2 separate regions of the Homo sapiens genome follow, and region 1 is linked to region 2. Evidence: promoter capture Hi-C in human tissues and cell types (Jung and others, 2019). All regions are on one chromosome and are shown on one strand. The core of a region is centred on a gene start or on the middle of the fragment in contact, and the rest is flanking DNA. Distances in the headings are between cores, read along the strand shown. Region 1 has its middle 23 kb from the start of TMEM185B. Region 2 holds the start of EPB41L5 (erythrocyte membrane protein band 4.1 like 5).

Region 1 (5,192 bases), core at 1,121-3,620, 190 kb after region 2:
CACTCAGAAAACGAGAAGTATATGGAAACTTCTTCAACATGGCAAAAGCCATATATGAAATACCTAGAGCTAACATCATACTCAATGGTGAAAGACTGAAAGATTTTTCTCTAAGATCAGGGTCAAAACAAAGATGTGCACTTTACCACTGCTATTCCACGATGTACTGGAAGTTCTTGCCAGAGCAATTAGACAAGAAAAAGAAATGAAGGGCATCCAAATTGGAGAGGAAGAAGTAAAACTCAATTCGCAGATGAAAACTCCCATATATAGAAAATCCCAAAGAATCTATAAGAAAGCCACTAGCACTAATAAATGAATTCATCAAAGTTCAAGGGTACAAGATCAACACACAAAAATCAATTGTGGTTCTATATATCTGCAAGGAACAATCTGCAAATGAAATTTAGAAAATAATTGTACTTAATAATACCATCTAAAAGAATAAAATACCTAGAAACAAATTTTACCCAAAAGATGACTTTAACCAAGAAGATGAAAACTTACACAGTGAAAAATTTTAAAAATGGCTAAAAGAAATTAAAGAAGACCTAATGAAATGGAAAGACATCATATGGTCATAGGAAGATTTGATATTGTTGTCAGTACTACCCAATGCTATCTACAGAGTCAATGCAATCCTACTCAAATACCAACAGCGTTTTTGCAGAAATAGAAAAACTGATCCTCAAATTCATTAAAAAAAAAAAATCCCCGCAAGGCATTAAAACACACACACACACACACACACACACACACACAAACTTGAAGTTGCCAAAACAATCTGTAAAGGCAGCACAAAGTCGGACTCACACTTCCCAATGTCAGAACTTACTACAAAGCTACAATAATCAAAACAGGTTTGGCATAAGGATATATGGTCCAATGGAACTGAGAGTCCAGAAATAAGCTCATATGTCTATGACTGATTTTTGACATGAGTGCCAAATGGTGAAAGAACTATCTTTTCAACAAGTGGTACTGTGACAACTGGATTTCCACTTGAAAAAGAATGAGGTTGGCCTCTCCCCTACATGGTTCATAAAATCATGTAAATAAAATATTCATAGAATTATTGATCAATGGATCAACAATCTAAATATAAGAACTAAACTTGAAACACCTGGAAGAAAGCATAGGGGTAAATCAGGTCCTTGGAGCTGGCAATGGGTTCCTACATATGACACCAAAAGCATGAGCAACACCAACAAAGAAAAATTGGGCTTTATCAAAATTAAAAACTTTTGTACATGAACGGACATTACCAAGAAAAGTTAAAAGACAAAGTACAGATGGGATAAAATATGCAAAATATATAATTGATAAGAGATGAATCTCCAAAATACATAAAGAACAACGCTCAACAAAAAAAGATAAACAATCCAATTAAAACACAGGCAAAGGTCTTGAATAGACATTTCTCTAAAGAAGATATGCAAATGGCCAATAAGCACATAAAAGATGTCAATATCCTTAATCATTAGGATAATACAAGTCAAAACCACAGTAATACAACTGCATCATCTACTAGGATAGCTATACATTTTATTTTATTTATTTTATTTTATTTATTTTATTTTATTTTATTTTTGAGATGGAGTCTTGCTCTGTCGCCAGGCTGGAGTGCAGTGGCGTGATCTCAGCTCACTGCAACCTCTGCCTCCCAGGTTTAAGGGACTCTCCTGCCTCAGCCTGCCACATAGCTGGCATTACAGGCACGCGCCACCAGGCCCAGCTAATTTTTTGAATTTTAGTAGAGATCGGGTTTTACCATGTTGGCCATCATGAGGTCTCGATCTCCTGACCTCATGATCCGCCCACCTCGGCCTCCCAAAGTGCTGGGATTATAGGCGTGAGCCACCAGGCCCAGCCGCTATACATTTTAAAAAAGGAAAATGTTGATGAAGACATGGAGAAATGGGAAACCTCATACATTGCTGGTAGTAATGTAAAATGGTGCAGGTGCAGCCAGTGTGGGAAAGAGTTTGGCAGTTCCCTAAAAAGCTAAACATAGAATTTCCATATGATTCAGCAATCCTCCCCCAAAGCATATGTTCACTAGAGTTTAAAACAAGGACTCAAACAGATACTTGTAAGTCAATGTTCACTGCAGCATTATTCATAATAACCAAAAGGTAAGAACAACCCAAATGTCCATTAATGGATGGATGGATAAATATACAATGGATATACCACATGTACATCCTACAATGTGTGTGAATCTTGAGGACATTATGCTAAGTGTGATAAACCTTATACGAAATGACAAATACTCTATTATTCCACGTGTCTGAAATATCTAGAATAGTGAAATTCATAGCGATGGAAAGTAGAATAGAGGTTACCAGGGGTTGGGGAAGGAAGGGAATGGGAAGTTGTTGTTTGATGGGAACCCAGTTTCTGTGTGGGATGATGAAAGGGTTTAGAAGTGGATAGTGCTGATAGTCGCACAACAATGTGAATAGAATCAATGCCACAGAATCATACGCTTAAAATGCTTAAAATGGCAAATTTCATAATTATATATATACACACACACACACATACACACATATACATATATACATGAGTGTGTATATATAAAACTACTCGGCCAGGCACGGTGGCTCATGCCTGTAATCCCAGCACTTTGGGAGGCTGAGGCGGTTGGATCACCTGAGGTCAGGAGTTCGAGACCAGCCTGGCCAACAGGGTGAAACCCCGTCTCTACTAAAAATACAAAAAATTAGCTGGGTGTGGTGGTGCTCACCTGTATTTCCAGCTACACGGGAGGCTGAGGCAGAAGAATTGCTTGAACCCCAGAGGCAGAGGTTGCAATGAGCCAAGATCATGCCATTGCACTCCAGTCTGGATGACAGAATGAGACTCCATCTCAAAAAAAAAAAAAAAAATACACACACACAAGCACGCTTACAATGGTATGTGACCCAGTTGAGGCCAGTGAGATGGGAGAAACTGGCTAAGGGCTTCGGGGGAACATTTCCTCATTCCTAGTGAGAGCTGATGGATGAGACGTGGTCTCTCCTGTTTCTCTGGACCTGGTCTCTGGAACTGCTGCAGCCATCTTGTGAACAGACTGAGAATTAAGCCAACAGGGGGCCACAGACAGATAGATGTGGGTACCTGAGGATGTCATGGAGCTACTGGACAGCCTAGGAAACATGGTGAGACCTGTGTCTACTAAAAATCAAAAGCATTAGCTGGGCATGGTGGCATGCACCTGTGGTCCCAGCTACTTGGGATACTGAGGTAGGGGAATTGCTTCAGCCTAGGAGGTTGAGGCTGCAGTGAGCCATGATCACATTGCTGCACTCCAGCCTGAGCGACAGAGCAAGATCCTATGAAAAACAAAAACAAAAAAATGCTACTGGACCAGCGGACTGCTATGAAGTCAGTCCTATCTGGGCTTTACAGTTTCATGAGATGATTTTCTTATTTAAAAAAAAAGGAAGTGTTGGAGGCAATTAATAAAGAGCTCGGCCGGGGGCGGTAGCTCACGCCTGTAATCCCAGCACTTTGGGAGGCCAAGGTGGGCGGATCACGAGGTCAAGAGATCGAGACCATCCTGGCCAACATGGTGAAACCCTGTGTCTACTAAAAATATAAATAAAACTAGCCAGGCGTGGTGGCACATGCCTGTAGTCTTAGCTACATGGGAGGCTGAGACATGGTCTCTCCTGTTGGGGAGAGGCTGAGGCAGGAGAATCGCTTGAACTCAGGAGGCGGAGGTTGCAGTGAGCTGAGATCACGCCACTGCACTCCAGTCTGGTGACAGAGCGAAACTCCGACTCAAAAAAATAAATAAAAATAAAGAACTCAAAAAGTCCAACTCTTTCCTTAAGCTTAAAATAGATAATTTAGAAAAAAACCTGAAAGATGAGAAATCTAAATGTTTAGACAAATTGGTCTGATGTCTGACCTTACCAGATCAAGAAGATGAATGAAAACCTCCTATTTCAAGTAGCTGCAACCAAAGCAACCTTCAAAATCCATCAAAAGAAAGAGCAAGTGCACTTTGAGAGGCTGAGATGGGCAGACCACCTGAGGTCAGGAGTTCAAGACCAGCCTGGCCAACAGGGTGAAACCCCGTCTCCACTAAAAATACAAAAATTAGCTGGGCGTGGTGGTGCATCCCTGTAGTCCCAGCTACTCGGGAGGCTGAGGCAGGAGAATTGCTTGAACCCAGGAGGCAGAGGTTGCCATGAGCCGAGGTCACACCACTGCACTCTAGCCTGGGCAACAGAGTAAGACTCTGTCTCAAAAAAAAAAAAAAAAAGCAAGTGTAGACAACATTAGAAGATGCTTTGGAGGCCAAGTTCTTTCTTCAGGGAAGCCTGGCACTGCCCTCTGGCAAGGCCAAAGAATGGAGAGGAAGAATGAGCAAGCTTACGCCCCAGAAGGAATGGCTAGGAGGTAGGAGCTTGGGTTTAGATGTATCGAAGGAGAGATGACCTAGAAAATGAACCAAAAGCAGTTTTAAAAAAATATGTGTAGGCTGGGCGCAGTGGCTCATGCCTGTAATCCCAGCACTTTGGGAGGCCAAGGCGGGCGGATCATGAGGTCAGGAGATTGAGACCATCCTGGCTAACACAGTGAAACCCCATCTCTACAAAAAATACAAACAAAATTAGCCGAGCGTGGTGGTGGGCGCCTGTAGTCCCAGCTACTCAGGAGACTGAGGCAGGAGAATGGCGTGAACCCAGGAGGTGGAGCTTGCAGTGAGCCGAGATCGCACCACTGCACTTCCAGCCTGGGCAACAGAGCGAGACTCCGTCAAAAAAAAAAAAAAGTGTTGATGTGGCTGAGTTATATACTTATTTGAAAACTCTTAGGGGAAAAAAAGAAACTCAAGGAATACTAAATTAACTGAAGCAGCTAAAATAATGGATTGCTTCAAGACCACGTGAAAAAAAATCTCCAAACCGAGAAATCCATACTGCAGTCAGAAAAGCACAGTTAGAAGGGGAGGGGCAGAAACAATTCTGGCAGAAACTTCAAGTCCTTTCTGAACTCGTGAAAAAGAAATGAATTTTCACCCAATACTCAGTCTTTCCAAAGCAGCAAGCAGTCCCTGCATTCCCAGAGTGACTTTGGGGGAAGTCAGAAATTGCACAAGTGATTATGGTAAAGACTGAAGAGTGTTCCAGAAAGAGGACCTATAGGGCACCCCGCGGATGAAGTGCAATTATGTA
Region 2 (4,933 bases), core at 136-2,635:
AGAGCTCTAGCCAGGGCCCACAAGGCCCTACATCTTACCCCTTTCCTCTCTGACTGTCACCTCCTCTTCCTCTTGCTTCCTCACTTCTAGCCACACTGGACTTCCTTGAAAAGACAGACCTGTCCCCTTGCAGGGCCTTTTGCCCTTGCTGTTCCCTTCGGTTCTCCCCAGATGGCCACAGGGTTCCTCCCACACCTCCTCTAGGTCTTCATTCAAATGCTACCTTTTTTTTTTTTTTTGAGACTGAGTCTGGCTTTGTCGCCAGGCTGGAGTGCAGTGGCGTGATCTGGGCTCACTGCAACTTCCGCCTCCCGGGTTCGAGCGATTCCCCTGCCTCAGCCTCCTGAGTAGCTGGGACTACAGTCGGACGCCACCAGGCTCAGCTAATTTTTGTATTTTTAGTGGAGACGGAGTTTCACAGTGTTGGCCAGGCTGGTCTCGATCTCCTGACCTCGTGATCCGCCCGCCTCGGCCTCCCAAAGTGTTGGGATTACAGGAGTGAGCCACCGCGCCCAGCCAAATGCCACCTTCTTATTGTGACCTGCTATGTAAAATCGCAAACCCTCACTGCCTGTGGTTATTCCCTACTTGTACTTTTCTTTTTAGCATTTACCAATGTCTGACAGTATTTAATTTCACTAATTTATCTCGTTTATTTTATGTCTCGTTTATATTCCTGCTATAACGTAAACTCCGGGAAGGATTTTTGTCTGTCTTGGTTGTCTGTCGTATCTCGTGTCTAGAACACAGAACTCACAGTAAGTAGGCACTTCAATCAATTACCTGTAGAATGAACGGACTGAATGTCACCTTGTTAGAGTACCCTCCTGACCACACTCTGCTAAGCAGTAATCTTTTATTTCTCTTTCCCAGTTTTATTTTTCCTCATTTACACTTAATCACCTTGTGACACCTATTTGTTTACTGTTTCCCCAGTAGAGTGAAAGTCACTTTAACAGCAGAGATTTAAATGTATTTTAATCCCTACAAAGGAGAAAAAGGGAGGAAATACGTGACAGGCTCTCAATAAGTATTTGCGAAGGATTTAATCTCTTGAACGAATGGATGAATGAATCTAGCAGCCAGCTCCACCAGCCTCCTTCGTGATAGGACTAACTGGGGTCTGTCTGCGGACGGGCGCCTCCTCCGCGGGCGGAGGGCCGCAGCGGGAACTGGGTTTCGGCAGCGCCCCTTTAAACCAGCCGCGGACGCCCGGCTGCTGGCGCTAGTTCCAGCCCGGCCGGGCCCGGCCTCGCCGGTTTCTCTCCAGTCGCCGCGCCGGCCAATTTCCGGGGCGGTGTCATCGCCCGTTTAAGAGCGGAGCGCTCCGCCCTGGGGGCGGAGCTGGGAGGGAGCTTTAAGGGGTGGACGGGCGGGAGGTCGGGGTCCTCCGGGGATTAGAGCCGGTGGGCTCGTTGTGGGCGCCATTTCTCGGCGTCTACCGAGGAGCCGCCCCTTTCTCAGCCTTGCTCGGCTCTTCCCCGCTCTGGTCGCCGGGGCTGCGCCGTCCCCAGCTCAGGTAAGCGCGAGGCCCGGCGGCGGCGCCGCAGTACAGTCCGCTGCGCTCCTAGCCGAGTGGACCCTTCCTCGCCCGCGCCTGCGGTAGCGGCCTTGTCCCCGGGGAGGCGGGCGGGGGCCGCACCCAGACCCTAGGGCGGCCGGCCCCTCTCTCGTCGGGCCGGCAGGGCATTAATCCCGCCGGAGGGAGGGGCGGCGGCGGCCAATGAGGCAGGGCCGCCGAGTTTCGGTCGATACCGCGCGACGGGCCGGGGCGGAGGGCCCGGGGCAGCCGGGTTAATGTTTGCCGAGCGGACGCGCTCCCCGAGCCGCGGGTACCCCTCGCTGGTCCGCTGGGCTGCCGTCCAGCGGGAGAGACAAAAGTCGCAAGGGAAGGGGAAAAACGAACTGAGTTTGTGTCACTGTCTTGGTGGACTTTTCGAGCTAACCTGTATTTGAGAAAAACTTCAGTCTCTTGGGAAAGGAGAGGCAGGTGTGTTCCCATGAAAGACGAGGTCTGAAGGTCCCGCCCCGCCCCCACCCGGGACGGTTGTCGTGCTAATGATGGGTTCTTTGGTGTGTAAATGTTAATTGTGTCTGTGGTTACTCGAATTCTACCTAAGAGCGAGACCCAACTCTTAAAACGTTTGGCAATATTTTAGACTAATATTAAAAGTTTTTAAAGAATTACGGGGAAAATTCCCATAACCGTGTACATTTGTAATGTAACCCACAACTGCATTAACTCAGTTTCTAACATAACCCGTTGCTGAGCTCTAGTTAACCTTGTTGGATTATTTGTGCATGTAATATGCTGTGCAGGCTTTAGAAAATAGGTTAACATTATTCGAAAACGATATGCGTAACTGCTGTTGAATTACTCGCTTGCATTTTCTTTATTGGGAATACTGGGACAAAATATAGTGTTACCTTAAATGGCATTTGCTGTATGTTATATTGCTTTATCAAAAAGCAATTAACCAACCATATTGTGGCCACCAGTCATGTAAGAGTATACATATTTCATGACTAACTTTTGGGTTTTGGGTACTTTTTTTAACCAACTTCTGATAGGATTGCTTAAATTTGCATTTTATGATTCTAAAGGAAATCCTTCTAGTTAGGAACTAGAGTAGAAACTACTGTTTTTTGGAAGCCACATAAACCTACCATCCAAAAATTCCACTGTGTCATTCTAGTGTGTCAGGCGAGATGCGGGTTAAGCCAGCTGTTGGGCCAAAGTAGTGAACAAGCCAGACGAAGTCTTTGTCCTTGTGTGTGAGTGGGGGAAGTAGTCAGTAAAAAAGATAATAATTAACAGATATTTAATTACAATTTCTTTGTTATAAAGAAAAGGCTAAGAGTACTGAAAGAGATGTCGAATTTAGACTCACAAGTCTGAGATTGCTTTTCTGAGAATAAGACATTTCAACTATAAGTCTGAAGTTAGTCCAGTGAAATGGGAGCGGGTGGAAGAGAGGTCAACTGGAAAAAGAGCAATCCAGAAAGGTGGAACAGCTAATGAAAAATGGTCCAGAATTAAAAAGACTCTCCGGCCGAGCAGCAAGAGTACAAGAGCAGAGCAAACAGAGGGGAGTAGGCTGACAGATGGGTCAGGCAAGTAGGAGGAGCTGCATCTAGGACCAGGGCCATTAAAGATTTTAGAACAGGGATCAGATTTGTGGTTGCCAAAAATCCAGTGGCTGCAACATGAAGAGCGCAATTGGAAGAGTGCAGGTGGGAGGGGAAAAGTGAGTATGAGAAAACTTTTTTCACAATCATTAAAAAAAAAAAAAACCCACAACTTTTAGTGATCCATTCATATTATTTTTTTTTTCCATTAAAAAAAATTAGGCCAGGCGCAGTGGCTCACGCCTGTAATCCCAGCACTTTGGGAGGCCGAGGCGGGCGGATCACGAGGTCAGGAGATGGAGACTATCCTGGCTAACACGGTGAAACCCCGCCTCTACTAAAAAAAATAACAAAAAATTAGCCGGTCGTAGCGGCGGGCACCTGTAGTCCCAGCTACTTGGGAGGCTGAGGCAGAAGAATGGCGTAAACCCGGGAGGCAGATCTTGCAGTGAGCCCAGATCGCGCCACTGCACTTCAGCCTGGGCAACAGAGCGAGACTCAAAAAAAAAAAAAAAATTAGGTGGGGTCTTGCTGTGTTGCCCAGGCAGGTCTTGAACTCCTGGCTTCCAACAGTTCCGCCTTAGCCTCCCAAAGTGCTGGGATTACAGACATGAGCCACTGTACCCAGCCATATATTCTTGTTGTGACTTCTGACATGCCCCTCTTCAGAGAGAATCTCAACAGTTTACGTGTGTGTCTGTTTAGCGTGTCTGTGTGTGTGCATGTATCCCATCTCCGTGTAGGATGAAACTCTCTTCAGTGTTCTGTGATTTGATTTTTCACTTAGAAATTTTGTCATATCTAAGTCAACTATTTATTTAAAACAACTGTATTATGGCTGGGCTTGGTGCCTCATGCGTGTAATCCCAGCACTTTGGGAGGCTGAGGTGGGAGGAATCCGATTCCCTGAGGCCAGGAGTTTGAGACAAACCTGGCTAAGTAGCAAGACCCTGTCTCTACAAAAAATCATTGAAAAAACGTTAGCCCGGTGGGATGGTATGTGCCCGTAGCCCTAGGTGGGAGAATCCCTTGAGCATGGTAGATGAAGGCCGCAGTGAGCCCTGGGTGCTAGAGTGAGACTGTCTCTAAAAAAAAAAAAAAAAAAACATAAAAATAAAACAACTGTATTGTATGCTGTTGTGTGTACCATAACTTGTTTAACTGTTTGCACATTGATGAACACATTTAAAATTTTCTTAAATCAGTTATGCTCCGAAAAATCCTGTTCCTACAACTTAAAGCACATGTGTGATTTTTTTTCTTTAGGTTATCCTTCCAGAAATAGAACTGTTGAGTAAGGAATATGCATGTTAAAATTTCTAGTATTGGTCCGGCGAGGTGGCTTACGCCTGTAATCCTAGCACTTTGGGAGGCCGAGGCGGGCGGATCACCTGAGGTCAGAAGTTTGAGACCAGCCTGGCCAACATGGTGAAACCCAGTATCTACTAAAAGCACAAAAATTAGCTGGGCGTGGTGGCTGGTACCTGTAATCCCTGCTACTCAGGAGGCCAAGGCAAGAGAATCTCTTGAACCCGGCAGGTGGAGGTTGCAGTGAGCCGAGATCGCGCCATTGCACTGCAACCTGGGGGACTAGGTTGAGACTGTCTCAAAAAAAAAAAGAATTAAAAAAATATTAATAGCATGGTCAAGTCTCCCTCCAAAAAAGGCCAACGTAGGAGGATTATTTTTTCTCACATTCTTTTTTACACTATCTTGAGTCTTTAAATGACAGACAATATCTTATTTTTTTTCATTTGGATTTTCTTGGATACTGTTAAAGGTGTTCGTTTTTATGAACATCTTT

Evidence for each region. The method cuts DNA at HindIII sites, captures the fragments that hold promoters and counts their contacts. A contact is called where the count stands out against the background at its distance.
Region 1: a fragment that was not itself captured here is called in contact with the fragment with the promoter of EPB41L5 in region 2 in 1 of the 25 tissues and cell types used here (spleen).

Annotation. Positions count from the first base shown.
Region 1 is chr2:120,198,273-120,203,464 of GRCh38, forward strand. No RefSeq gene overlaps it. Among named protein-coding and RNA genes, the nearest start is that of TMEM185B, 23 kb to the right of the region's middle. The HindIII fragment of the contact is 3,485 bases long and covers 629-4,113 here.
Region 2 is chr2:120,011,692-120,016,624 of GRCh38, forward strand. It overlaps EPB41L5 (erythrocyte membrane protein band 4.1 like 5), which reads left to right and starts at 1,386. Exons shown (of 25, transcript NM_020909.4): 1 at 1,386-1,519. LOC107985817 (a long non-coding RNA gene) reads left to right here. Exons shown (of 4, transcript XR_001739205.2): 4 at 702-1,013. RefSeq lists a silencer at 1,562-1,731. The HindIII fragment of the contact is 14,132 bases long and covers 1-4,933 here.